Linked DNA regions of Homo sapiens: region 2 is linked to region 1. Evidence: promoter capture Hi-C in 16 types of primary human blood cells and fetal thymus (Javierre and others, 2016). All regions are on one chromosome and are shown on one strand. Each heading gives the region's core, a stretch centred on a gene start or on the middle of the fragment in contact. The rest is flanking DNA. Distances are from core to core; before and after follow the strand shown.

What was found. The method cuts DNA at HindIII sites, captures the fragments that hold promoters and counts their contacts. A CHiCAGO score of 5 or more calls a contact.
Region 2: a fragment that was not itself captured here is called in contact with the fragment with the promoter of SH2D4A in region 1 in 1 of 17 cell types (non-activated CD4 T cells); the score reaches 5.1 in non-activated CD4 T cells.

Annotation. Positions count from the first base shown.
Region 1 is chr8:19,312,347-19,319,722 of GRCh38, reverse strand. SH2D4A (SH2 domain containing 4A) reads right to left here and starts at 6,030. Exons shown (of 10, transcript NM_022071.4): 1 at 5,900-6,030; 2 at 1-379. The coding sequence starts at 175. The HindIII fragment of the contact is 8,347 bases long and covers 3,141-7,376 here.
Region 2 is chr8:19,826,022-19,833,179 of GRCh38, reverse strand. INTS10 (integrator complex subunit 10) reads right to left here. Exons shown (of 17, transcript NM_018142.4): 9 at 6,621-6,754; 10 at 2,621-2,774; 11 at 1,070-1,152; 12 at 1-11. Among named protein-coding and RNA genes, the nearest start is that of INTS10, 12 kb to the right of the region's middle. The HindIII fragment of the contact is 4,467 bases long and covers 2,682-7,148 here.

The DNA of each region.
Region 1 (7,376 bases), core at 4,781-7,280:
TTGGTCTGGGTTTCACTGGCAGGGACTCCTTTCTTTCCATAGCTGCTTCTCTTTCTTTCCATCGTCGGATCTGTTCCTCTCTCATCTTGAAGAACAGGATCTGTTTCTGTTCTTCGCTGAGCTCTGCCAGTAGATCAGGATCTATGTACATCTCCGACAGTATCTGTTTCAGCATCTTTGCACTTCTGAAGTCTTTTATACTTGTGGCAAAAGTTCCTGAAACTGGCCTCCAGGTGTCCCTCCACCTGTGCTGGCACTTGGGCGTTTCCACGAAACTTCCCAAACAGCTCACAATCCTGGCTGACTGGGACAATAATTCAGCAAACTGGCTACTCAGACCTGGCACCAAATGTCCTGTCCAAAATGCTGTTCACTGAACCTGCAGAGAGAAAGAGCCCACATTCAGGCAGCGTGTTAAAATGTGTGGACACTGGCTAGGACGGGTTTAAAAAAAAAAGCTAGGAGGAAACACAGTATCACTTTTCAGTTCAGAGAGAAAAGAGAAGAAGAAAATCTGAGGCACACTTTGTTAAGAGTTTGTATAACCTCTATCCTGTAATTTCTAAAGATACTCTGTCAAAAAAAAAAAGAAAACAAACCCTAACTTTATACAGGTCAATCTCAGGCAAACAAAAAAAGTTCACAGAGGTTTGTCCAGCTCCCAACTAAGCAAACACATTATTACCCCAGAGCCTAACAAACCACCAACTGTGTGGCTGAAAAAAGAAAGAAAAAAAAAAGTCACAGGAAGAAATTAAAAGGCTCTCTGCAAAGTACCTATTTCAAAAGAAAATACCACTTTTGATATGTCACAGAGTAACTCATCCCAAACCAAACCAAAATAGAGCCATGCTCAAGGAAGAAAAAGGAAGAAATAAAAACTAGACCACCATGCATTTTCTGCAATTTCCCTAAAAAGTAGCATTAAATAAACAAAATTATGTACTTTCCTCTTCACAAAAGGATAATGTAATTTCCAGATAACCTACTAGAGCCATGAAAATCAGGGCAGGTGCAAGAGAGAACATCCATCTACATTCTGGAAGGTCACCGAGTTTTAGGTGTGCTTTTTCCAGATAACCTAGTTTAATAAAATCTAAATGGACAGACCAGATAAACTAGGGGGATGAAGAGGTCATTAGGTTCATAACAAAGGATCCTTCATTTATATGACTTTACCGCATGGCTCCTTGAAAGAGAAACCATAAAGCGAGAGTGCACAGTGGCCTCCTAGAAGTTCTCCTGTGGTTGGAAATCCTACTGAGGTTTCATTCTACTTTCCACATTTCTATTTTAAAATATTGGCTTAAAAATATTACCACACTGTCATACTTTCTCTCTCTATTTTTAAACAATTTCTAAGTCCCATAAACCATCATACTTTTGTAATCAGCAGGAAACTATGTAAATATATCTATTCTGGAAAACAAAAGACTTTGGATTCGATGTAATAAGATATAAGAAAAAAAACTTACTACAACTTTTCAGAATCACATGTGTCCTAAGAAATTGACCAATAGGCCAGGCGGGGTGGCTCACGCCTGTAATCCCAGCACTTTGGGAGGCCAAAGAGGGGGGATCACGAGGTCAGGAGTTCGAGACCAGTCTGACCAGTATGACCAACATCTCTACTAAAAAAACAAAAAATACAGAAATTAGCTGGGCATGGTGGTGGGTGCCTGTAATCCCAGCTACTCAAGAGGCTGAGACAGGAGATCGCTTGAACCTAGGACGCAGAGGTTGCAGTGAGCCGAGATCGCGCCACTACACTCCAGCCTGGGCAACAGAGGGAGACTCTGTCTCAAAAATAAAAAAAGAAAAAAAAAAGAAATTGACCAATAATTTGTTATTTATAATAACACCTCAATAATCTTACCACCTTGCCATGTGCTCTCAAATACGTTGTTTCTCCATACTATGTTCAAACAGTCTTAAACTTCAGACAAGTCACTTAGCTATATTATGACCATCGTAGTGTTGTTGGTTTCTCTTCGTTCACCTTGTCATTGATACAGTTAGATTTGTAATGCCCCTCTCACCATCTGGGGGCCTCCTTCAGCTTCCCGTCTTCCTCCTCTTCCGTGCAAAGTAGTTCCTTGATTTACACCTGTCTTTTGAGACAAGCACGCTCAACAGCTAGGCTACCACAGAGTGGTGTGCATACTCAGCTCTTAGATTCGCTGACTGTTCATTGTGAAGCCAGGCCCTTGATGAAACTACACCTATCCCTACTGACTGCAACCTATCATCTCGGCAGCATTCAACTACCAGAATCCAAATGGAACCAAACATTAAGAGAAAAATTTTAAAGGACTAAAAGTAATATCACGCCCTTCCCAGATCCACTTGCCAACTTTGTATTTTGCATTGAGATACCCTTAAAGGCTTGAACAGCCAAAAAAAAAAAAAAAAAAAAAAATGGATGTCTTGTCAAGATTTCTTGACTTTTGACTTTTTGTTTCTAGCAGCTTCTCAAAGGGTGGAGCCAATGAAATCCACAAGCTCCAAGATAAAGTGGTAAGAAAGGAGACAGAATGACTCCTTGACATTCCAGTAAATGTCCTTAAGTTCAATGGTTGGTTTTCGCAGAAATCACACACGGCAGAAGATGAACAGTTCAGCTGGGGTTGAGACTTCTGCTGTGTTCCCCATTTTGAATGCAGCGAATCCTATTCAAGGCATGGGTAGATCCTAGAATCTAAAACCCTTAAAGTGTCAAAGTCATATTCCTCCAGTCTCCCCCGCCCTGCATATTCCTGATAACACAGCTAACACTTCTTGTACCAGGCACCATCTTAATTAAGCACTCTACATGTGTTAACTCACTTAATCTTCACAATAACCCTTGGAGTCCAGCCCATCACTATGCCCATCTCACAGATTAGGAAGATAGAGCACAGGTCAGCAGCTGGTAAGCGGCAGAGCCGGGCAGTCCAGCTCTAACTCAGCTTCACTGTAATACACAACACAGAGGCCTTTTTGTGAGTTTATTTGTGTGCCCAGAATCAGAACAGCAGGATGTGGTGCCATGTATGAAATTTCAGAATGGAAGCCAGCAAATTCCTGCAGCAACAGAAACGCTGAACTGATGGTGCTTGACACAGGGCAGAAGCCTCCTCCTGGTCAACTGTAGCTAAGCTTAGGGGAGGCCAGGTGCACACACCCCAGCCAGGAAGGACAGCAAGGAACCGACTGTCACACTGACCCAGGTGTGGACATTGCTTACCCACGTATTCACCAGACACTTAGTCCCATTTCCCCTTGCACTTAGTCATCCACTTCGTCTCTACAATTTCCCCTTCCAAACAAACACTAAGAACAGCACAAAAAGCACAGCCTCTCACATGTGCAAGGAGGTTCATGGCACCTCTGTGATGAAATTCTCACATTATTTCCATTTTTATGTTGTTTTGTTTTACTTTTTATAGCAAACGTGGATTTCTAACATTAAAATTAACTAGTTCATCTTGAAGGAAAGACACTGGCTTCCTTGTGCCTCCAAGAATACTTGGGGGACCCAGCCGACAACTATCTGTGGTCAGGCCGTTGACGATGTGGCCATTCTGCCACTGCTGAATGGTACTGGTGTAAATCACCTGTCCCCCTCACCCTCTAATTCCCAACCCCTAACCCCCGCTCCAAGGCTTTCTCAGACCCCAACTCAAGCTCAGCACAGTACACCCAAGACACCCAGAGGCACTCCAGCCTCAACTCCCAGCTCCGCCTCTAGTGAGCGGTGTGACTCTGTGCTGTCACCTCACCTCCTTGGGACTCAGTTTCCTCATCTGTGAAACGAGGACTGGTTCAGTCTGTGACTTCTAATGTGTGGGTATCTGACATAATCTACTGTGAAGCGAAGGAGCCTGGTGGAGCCAGGGTAGAAGAAATAGAAATCAGGAAATTAACTAACTAGGGCTTTCCTACTTTCACTCCCTGACAAGGAAGTAATCATTGCTGATACTGATTCAAACTCAGAGGACTTTCCCATACTATATCAAGGGCAGCAAATCTCCGGTTATTCAAGATCCAACAAAGGAATAGCTCAGCTAACACAGCCCCTTTCTTAAAAGAGAGAAATGATAAGCAACAAGCCCACACCTGCTATTTATTCTGAACACCAATTGCTAAAAGGTCAGAGAATCCGTTGTTTTCCATGATACCATAGATTTGGCCTGATTCTCACACCTTCACACTGTTCTACAATACAACTGTCTTTTGAATAACTCTGAGACCTAAACAAAATACAATTTTAAAAGGCCTTAGATACAGGCTAAATCATAAAAATAGTAGGCGGGCACAGTGGTTCTACATGTAATCCCAACACTTTGGGAGGTGGACATGGGTGGATTGCTGGAGCTCAGGAGTTCAAGACCTGCTTGGGCAACATGGCAAAACTCCGTCTCTACATAAAGTATAAAAATTAGCCAGGCGTGGTGGCCCGCACCTATAGTCCCACCTACTTGGGAGGTTGAGGTGGGGGGATCTCTTGAGTTGGAGAGTTTGAGGCTACAGTGAGCCGAGATCGCACCACTGCACCACAGCCTGGGTGACAGAAGGAGACCCTGTCTCAAAAATTAAAAACATTAGGTCGGTGCAAAAGTTATTGTGTTTTACATGGCCAAAAAAAAAGTAACTGCGGTTTTTTTTACGTAAAAACCGCAATTACTTTTGCACCGACCTAATAAAATAAAAAATAAATAAAAGTATTGTGGTATGGACAGTGTAACTATAACATTAACAATACAGTTTGAATTCTAATTCTTTTAAAACAGCCAGCTCTGTGGTCCAACTTTGTTTTCTTATTGAAACTTTATCTTATTCATCTACCAGCAAAAGGGCTGTTTTTGAGGATGAAACAAATTACCAGAGATGACAGCAGTTTGTAAATATATACTATTCTTCAGAAATTTGAGATTACTGTACACACAGATTTAGTATACATAGAGAATTCCACTCATATGCCAAATCTATGCCCCTGTATGCTTTCCACTTATTTATTCACTATTTTAAAATAATCGTACCCAAGTCGTTGTTTCTATTAAACCAGCAATCAAACGAAAGCCTTTGGAGCGATGAGGAGCATCTGTTTGAAAGGGGGAGGTGCCACGCTTGCTGCTTCTCTAAGCTCCCTGGGAAGGGAGAGACAACTCAGAAAACCTACAAACTGTAGCTCCTTCCGGTGCCCGCGTGACCCCCGAGTCCAGGAGCGGGCAGGGGCGCCGCTTGGCTGAGCGCACTGGGCACCCGGTCTGGGTCTGGGCCAGCCCCGCCGCTGCAGCCCGAGGGAGGCGGCGCTGCACTGGCCTCCGCGCGCTCCCAGACCCCACGTGGGGGCGCCCCTGGGTGCCGGTGCGCGGGGAACGTGCTGCGGGGGTGCTGCGCCAGCTGCCACCGTTTCCCGGGACTTCCCTCCTGGAAGATTTCCATGCGCAAGTCGAGGACGTGCTCCTGCTAGGAGTCTAGAAACTCTAGGCCAGCCCGGACCCTCCCGGGGCCTGCACTCCCCGCGGGTGGAAGCACGCGCCGCGTGTCCCTGCCGGATTCCAGAACTTCCCCGAAGGTCCTCAGCCCCGGCAGACCCTCTCCCTCGAAGTTCCCCCGCCACCCCCTGCAAGCCCCCAGGCCCCGGGGACCGCCGCTCACCTAGCCAGCGGCTCCAGACACCGGACACCGGACACCGGACACCGGACACCCGCCGCGGCCGCTCTCGCCGCCCAACCCCGCACCTGAGCCCGCCCCGGGCGCCGCGAAGGGGTGGAGGCGGGGGTGAGGCTTCCGCCCGCCCGCTCTGGCCCCTGCGCCTCCCATGCACCCATGCAACCTCCGAGGAAATTCCCTTCCCCCTACTCCCACCCCACGCACACTCTCCCCAAAGCCTCGCCCCACCCCCAGCACCTACCAGTGCTGGGCGCCCCTGGGCAGGGTGGCTCGATCACCCGCCACATCCACTTGGCCGCCAGAAGCCGTCGGGGAAGGGAGGGAGGGAAAGGCAGAGGCGTCCCAAGCGGCGCAGGCGGGCTGAGCAAATACTCCGGCCCGGACGCAAAACAGCTCTTGTAGCCGTCCCGCCCGCGCCGCCCCGCCGCGCCCACATGCCGGGGTGACTGGCGGGGCGCAATCGCGGCCCCACCCGGGCGCCTGGAGGCTCTCCAGGGCCACTCGTCGGCGAGGCTGCGTGGCCTGCGCATCTCGGGCCGCCTGGCCCGCGCGCTGTCCCCGAGCTGCGGTAGTCCGGGGTAGGCTTGTCCTCTCCTCTCTTAGTTCATGAGACAGGGATCTGCAGTCTGTGATCTCTTGGGGACTGCAGGACTTAGATTAAATCTGCAGATCTGGGCCTTTCCACGTTTCAGAGCTCGGGGTTCCTTGCTAGGTGTAGGGTAGGAGGGTGCGCAGGCCCCACTTGTTCACTCTGCTTGGGTGCTGCAGGCCAAGGCGACTCTGGAGCTTTTTTTTTTTTTCTTTTGTTGACATTAAGTAAATGATCAAACTCTTTGGCACTTGTCGGTACACGTGTGGCTTTGTAGGACAAGATGAAGGAAGGAAAAGGCTGGAAGGAAGGAGACCGCAGTCAACACAGACAGGTGGAGAAAATGAAAGAAAACTGGGGGAAAAGTTAAGATGCTGAAAGGAGTCTTGAGGATTGCAACAAGAACAGGTTGGCTTGGTGCCTGAAGACGTCAGGGAGGAGCTGGCAGTCCACAGTTAGAGGAAATCTTGGAGGAAAATTGAGCAGAAGCACAGTGGAAAGGCATTTCCACTGGAGGGCATTTTCCATCCTAGAGGAGCATGTGGAAGAAAACCGCCTGCTTTGGTGAACCCCAGATTTTGTGTATTGGGAGAGATGTAATAAACAGTAAACACCAGTAGTCCTCTCCACGGACTACCTGACCTCTTTAGGAGCCTGACCTGCTGGATTCAAACACAAAATGGCATTTCCCTGCCTCTCCAAACTGCAGAAGCTGTGCAGAGTTACATCAAGCCTCGGGGCAGGCGGCATTGTCAGGAAATAAGACCCAGCTATTTAGGAACAATTCCAGGAATCCCATCAGGGAGGAATTTCTGGTGTAAGGCTTAGTTCCTACTGCAGTTTAAATGATAGCATATGGGGTGCTTTAGGCTGGAGTGGGATTGGCCCCTGGAAAGCTGCTATGACGAGGTCAGAATGAATCCTAGCCCTGCATGGATGCATCAGTTGAACCATACAGGGTGGTTTATCAGTTAGGAAAAATCCCACAGGACACTGTGACAGCCTACCTTCCTCACACCCAGTCTCTCTCCAGGTCCTGGCAAGTCCTTCCTTATAACAGCTTTATCACTGTGCTACTAACCTCTGTACCTCACTTTCCTCCTCTAGATAAAGAGTGTCTGCCTCGGTA
Region 2 (7,158 bases), core at 3,666-6,165, 510 kb before region 1:
TTATATTGACCCTAAGAAAGATAGAATAGCAAGGAGGGGAAAAGCATCGCTGTTAAAAAAAGAAATTTAAAAAATACCGTTCCAGGGTTCACGAAGCAACGAGCAAGCAACTATACAAAGACGGTAGCTTGGTTTGATCATCTGAGGAAGAAACGGAGAATTGGCAATAGAATCAAATCAACTTAATTAAAGCCAGGTGGGAGTTCTTTCTGGCGGTACTTTATAAGGATGAAGATTTTTCTTTCTGGTCTTAGGTCTCGAGACTAAAGAAAATAACCAGGCCCTGTGATCCAGCACATTTGGATATAACATTTCTTTAGAAATATTTTACTACAAGCACCACTTCTCCTTTATGAAGGATGGAAGCAGCAACCTGCCCATTCCGACACCACCTCATTCGTGAATTATCGACTATCTCCATTCAAGGTCTAAGATGCTGGAGAACAGTACAGCCAGGCAGACTCCACCAGCAGAGAGAGGAGGGTGAGAAGTAATCCTCTTTTACCGAAAAGTAAAAATCTTACTTTTACAGAGAGGTGTGATTGGATATACCAAAAGTAACACAGAAGGTACAGGCTTGTCATTTTGGAGTTTTTGTTTCGTTTTGTTTTTGAGACAAGGTCTCACTGTCACCCAGGCTGGGGTGCAGTGGCGCTATCATGGTTCAGTGCAGTCTTGACTTCCTGGGCTCAAGTGATCCTCCCGCCTCAGCCTCCTGAGCAGCTGGAACTATAGGCACATGCCACCACACTTGGCTAAGTTTTTTATTTTGTAGAGACAGGGTCTCACTATGCTGCCAGGGCTAGTCTCGAACTCCTGGGCTCAAGCAATCCTCCCACCTCGGCCTCCCAAAGTGCTGGGATTACAGGCGTAAGCCACGACACCCGGCCGATAGTTACTTTGAAAGGAAAATGGACCATACCCCCTCAGCCACTGAAAACAGAACAGGTGTCAGGAGGCAGTGGACTAGCCCAAGAGGGAACATGACACATTCTGCATAGGAAAGCTGGTTTGCCACCATAGCCATGCTGTACAGACACAGGTACCTAAAATATGTATAATACTCTACCTGATAGATGATCATATCAGTGAGGAAGATTCTTAACCAAAGCCAAGTATCCGTCTTCCAGGCCAAGCAAATCCTTGTAAATTCTGAGTAAGAATTCAAGAACAAATTTACCAAATATATGCAGCAAAGAAGCAGAAAACAAACTAACAAATCCAGTAAGAGAGAAGAGAGACAACCTACCAAAAATGTATAGTAACTTTGACTTTGATTTCTAACACACTGCTCTAGAATTTCAAGTAGAGAAGAAACATACAACACTTATCAGTAATACACAAGCAATATTTTGTAGATGCTAACAACTTACTGAGCACATACCAGGTGCCAAGAACTGTTTAAAGTGCTTTTCATGTATTTCCTCATTTATCTTTTAAGCCACTTTGCTTTCCCCAAAACAAGGTCCCATTTTATTTTTATCTTATTTTTAGAGACATTCTCCCTGTCACCCAGGCTGGCAGTACAGTGGCCCTAACATGGGTCACTGCAGCCTCAACCTTCCGGCCTCAAGCAGTCCTCCTACCTCAGCTTCCTGAATAGCTGGCACTACAGACACATGCCATCACTCTTGGCTAAGTTTTGTTTTTGTTTTTTTATAGAGACGGGGTTTTGCCATATTGCCCAGGTTAGTCTCTAACTCCTGAGCTCAATGATCCACCTGCCTCAGCTTCCCAAAGCACTGGGATTACAGGCATGAGCCATCTTGCCTGGCCCATTTTATTTTGACCTAATTAAAATAACAAACATACAATGACACTAAAAGGTTTTATTCATTTTTAAAAAAATCAATTTCTAACTAAAGGAAAGATCCCCTCCAAAATTGTCACATATGTGTTCACAATCCCAAATGTAACAAAGAGAAACTGAACGGTGCTGAATTTACTTAGAAAAGATGACACAGCACATCTGGCCAAGGGCTCTGTATGACACATGACTGCAGCCAGGGGATGAATGTCCACGGGCTAAAAGTAAAATAAGGGGCCCCGATTCCAAAGTGTAGTAAGAATACCTTAGTTAGCAAACAGCTAGTGATTTCTAAGCAATGTCAAAATACCCAGTATACTCAAAGGAAAATAGGCTTCCTATAGTTTTTGGATTTTGAGTTTTTCAGACAATGGAGTTAATGCAGATAAAAACAGCAATATGGCTGGGCATGGTGGCTCACGCCTGTAATCCCAGCACTTTGGGAGGCCAAGGTGGGCGGATCACGTGGTCAGGAGTTCAAGACCAGCCTGATCAACACGATGAAACCCCGTCTCTACTAAAAATACAAAAAGTTAGCCGGGCATGGTCGCACGTGCCTGTAGTCCCAGCTACGAGGAAGGCTGAGGCAGAAGAACTGTTTGAACCCAGGAGGTGAGCGTTGCAGTGAGCCAAGATAACACCATTGTACTCCGGCCTGGGTGAAAAAGAGTGAGACTCCGTCTCAAAACAAGAAAAAAAAAATGCATGAACTACTGTAATCAACTTAATTTGCCGTAAGTGACCTGACATTTGAAGTAGCGTAATGATTTTATATAAAACATCAAACAGCACCAATGACATGCGCTTTCTTACCTTTGTCAAGGAATTCTAGGGAATAGAGCAACTCCCAGCTCTCCCTGGCCAATTTAAAGCTTTCTAACACTTCAGTGGAGTTAGCAAGTTCGGCTTTATTGACTACAATGTGACGATTTCTTCCTTTCGCCGAACAGTCTTCATCGTCTGAACTCTGCTTAAAGAATGTGGAGAACATGGTTAATTCAGTTATAAATATAGTCATATATGGAAACATATTATTGCTGCCAGTTTGGCCCGTGATATGAATTTTATATCAAAGGATACCACATACATACAATTTTTTTGAATTTAACAATTTAGCTTTGAAAATTAATTTTTTTTTGTCTTTATACTCTCACACATTCCATTTTTACTTCTAAAATTGAGTGAATTTTTTTTCTGATGTTAAATTCTTATGTTTGCTTATGGTGGTTTTAGAGCAAAGTTTAAAAATATCAATTTTATGAAAGTCAAAATTTAGATTTTTACATTGAGAGACACAGCTTAAACAGCACCTGTTTATAGTTTACTTTTTTTTCTAATACGTGACATGATTTAATTGGCTTCCAAATAATGGTTTGGCATGTACTGGGATAAAATTAAAGCCTGGGGCCGGGCGTGGCAGCTTATGCCTATATTCCCAGCACTTCGGGAGGCCGAGGAGGACAGATCACTTAAGGCCAGGAGTTTGAGACCAGCCTGGCCAACATGGCGAAACCCAGTCTCTATTAAAAATACAAAGTCAGCCGGGCATGGTGGCACGTGCCTGTAATCCTAGCTACTCAGGAGGTTGAGACACAAGAATTTCTTAAGCCCGGGAGGCAGAGGTTGCAGTGAGCAGAGACCGCACCACTGCACTCCAGCCTGGGCGACAGAGCAAGACTCTGTCTCAACAACAACAAAATTAAAGCCTGCGTCCTCTAAGAAATAATGTCAGAGAATAACTGTTAGTTATCTTTGGTTCACTGCGCATGACTCCCCTGCACTGGTCACCCCTCTCTCGCTCTCCTCCCCCAGTGCAAGGTCCTGGTCAGAAAGTACATTTGTCTGCACTTACCTAGTAAAGCCCTCTGTATTTTACAATACACATTTCTACTTTTCTTGCTCTTCATCTCAAGTAATATAAAGCCCACAGAAAAGAGAAGGCTACAGAGAAAGGCAATTATTGGAAATACCGCTGGGTAGAGTCAGATGTTTTGCCAAAAAAAAAAATGTAAAGGTAAAAGCAGCTCCACTGAATTTTATTTTGCTAAGAATTTTCTCAATCTTTTAATCCACCTAGGTCATTTTACTGATTTAATAACCCAAATGAAATTCTTCCTGCAGATCTTTACTCCACTAAGATCATTTAAAAATATGTGCAACTACATGTATACATATGTAACAAACCTGCACGTTGTGCACATGTACCCTAGAACTTAAAGTATAATAATGATAAAAGAAAACCTAAAAAATAAATAAATAAATAAAAATATGTGCAACTACTGTCACTAAAAGCTCCAATCCTCAAGCTCATCTCAGGTAAGGTGCGCAGGAAGCTGTCAGCACCTCCCTCCACTGCCCACCTTCCTTTCCACTTTCTGAGCTTGGTATCTTCCTGCTAGTCCCTGTTCTTGGTGACTTTTCCCTACCCCACTGTTCTGCTGCATGTTCTTATCCTCCCTAAGTAATGTTTTTGCATTGGGAAAAACACACCTTTTCCAATCAAAACCTGTCTACCAGGCCAGGTGTAGTGGCTTACCCCTGTAATCCCAGCAATTTTGGAGGCCAAGGTGGGAGGATTGCATGAACCCAGGAATTCAAGAACAGAGTAGGCAACATAGAAAGACCTTGTCTCCACCAAAAAAAAAAAAAACCACAACCGTATCTGCCAGGTACTGTTTCATCAGGGGCCTGTTCTTTGCCAAGTAACGGCAACCTAATATCATACACGAACACACATGGCGCGTCTGCTAGTGCTGCAGCTTACAGAAAACATTCCTGCCTCAACACGAGATCAGGAATTTATGAAAGGACCCCAGATGTGGTGGGACTAGTGTGAGTTCCAAATGTTTTTACATTTAAAGAAACTGATTTTGAAATGTGCAAGTACACTCTGAAGCACTGAGAGCGTGCTCTGAAGCAAGAATGCAGCAGGTGGGGGACAGATGCCCACAGGAGAGGCCTGTCCCAGCACCAGCCATTTATGACGTCACATGAGTCTGTGATGTCAGCTGGCTGGAGAACTGATGTGGGCCACCCCCCAACTCCAGTTGTGGGTTACCACCAGGGGCCAGTGTGATCAGATATCCTAATTACAAAAAGGAAGTCAGAAATCTGGATTGTTATGAGAAATGCTAGGTTTCTATTTTATTTTTTTATTTTTTATAGACGGGGTCTCCCTCTGTTGCTCGGGCTGGAGGGCGGTGGTGTGGTCATCACTCACTGGAACCTTGAACTCCTGAGCTCAAGGGATCTTCTCATCTCAGCCTCTGAAGCAGTTGGGATGATAGGTGCATGCCACCAGCCAGCTAGTTTTTTTTTTCATTTTTTATAGAGACGGGGTCTCACTATATTGCCCAGGTGGGTCTTAAACTCCTGGGCTGGTGATCCTCCTCTTTTGGCCCCCAAAGTGCTGGGATTACAGGCATGAGCCACTGCACCCAGCCTGGTTTCTAATTTTTAAATACTAGGTTATTTAAACAAACAAAACACTGTGAGCAAAGCAAGATATATGTGAGCTGAGCTCATGGGCCTTTAAGGTCTGGACCTGCATCAGGTTGGGGCAGACTCAGGGATAGAATGATAATCAGGACAAAATCAGTTAAGACCATGAAAACAAAAATGGATGGAAATTCCGCATTGGGTAGAAGGCCAGGTTATGAGAACAGGGCTTGCTAGATGAGTGCTTGACAGGCAAAAAAAACCGGAAGGAAGAACCGCTGGACCAGGTTTAAACAGCCATCCCATAGCCTGGACACCAAACCCAGGAGGGATCAATGAGAATTCCCTCCTTCACCAGATGCTCACCACACACCTGCTCCAGCCCAGGCACTACTCAGATGCCCAGGGTATGGTAGAGGACGAGGCAGAGAAAATGCTAGGCCCCACGGAGCTTGTACTCTAGTGAAGGAGGGACAGAGACAGTAAACCAGTCAGTGAATAAACAAGAAAAAACAGACAGCAAGGAGGATGCTGCAGAGAATTAAAAAAGAGGAATAAAAAGAGAGAACCAGACAGCTACTTCAGATGGGTGTTCAGGAGAAGCCTCAGAGGGAGACTCGTTTGGGCTGGGACCAAGTGACAAGGACCTAGCCAGGCAGAGATCCAAGGGAAAAGCACTGTAACCACAGAGCACAGCTTCAACGGGCAGAGGCTGGGAGGCAGGGACGGGCTCGGGGTACTGCCTGGTCAGGTTAGAGGACTGACGATTCTTCACATTCTCGGGCTTCTTGCATCTTTGTGCACACTTTTCCCTCTCAACAAAATCTACCTCCCAATTCCAACTGACAAAACCCTTCGCCTTTCAGCACTGATTTCAAATGTTGACCTCCTTCATGAAATCTTTTCTGCATCTGCCCATAGGCTGTTCCTGCTGCCCTGCCCACCTCAGAGCTTCCCATTCCGAGGCCAGTACCCCACACTGCACCCTGCTCTAGAGGTCCAATGCCATTTTGCTTTTGTTGTTTAAACTGAATCGATGCCATTCAGTCAAAACATGTATAAGGAACATATACCATGGGTTCTCCACCTCATCACTGACCTTTTGGGTGGTCCTGTACACTGTAAAGTGCTCAGCAGCAACCCTGGCCCCTCCCCACCAAGCTGTGACAACCAAAAATGTCTCCAGACATTGCCAAATGTCCCCTGAGGGCAAATCACCTCCAGTGGAGAACCACTGACTTAGTAATTATTAATATATCATACAATTTTAAAACCCAGGCTTTATCGATTTAGCTCCAAAGCCATATTTTACAAAGATTCATCTCTAGCAAAGCGTCCCATCCAATCTGTTAATAAGTATATTTGAAAGCCTTACCATGGTTTTTTCTCTTCCTTCAGCTAGTTTCCTCTTTTTATGGATGTGTTTATTACGATCAATTTCTACATCACCATACACATTCGATACATCTTCAAGAAGAACCAGTGGAACTTGGCTCGGGGCATTAGGACCTAAGGACGGGGAAAAACACCAACACTTACCAGTGCAGCAAGGAGGCCAGGCGCGGTGGCTCATGCCTGCAATCCCAGCCCTTTGGGAGGCTGAGGCAGGAGGATTGCCTGAGCTCGGGAGTTCAAAACCAGCCTGGGCAACATGGCGAAACCCCATCTCTACTAAAAATACAAAACATTAGCCGGGCATGGTAGCATGCGCCTGTTAATCCCGGCTACTCGGGAGGCTGAGGCAGGAGAATTGCTTGAACCCAGGAGGCGGAGGTTGCAGTGAGCCGAGATCACGCCACTGCACTCCAGCCTGGGCGACAGAGCGAGACTTAAAAAATAAATAAAATTAAAAAAAATTTAAAAATGCAGCTAGGAAAAGAATTCTTAAAATAAGGGAGAAGCTTACTCAACTG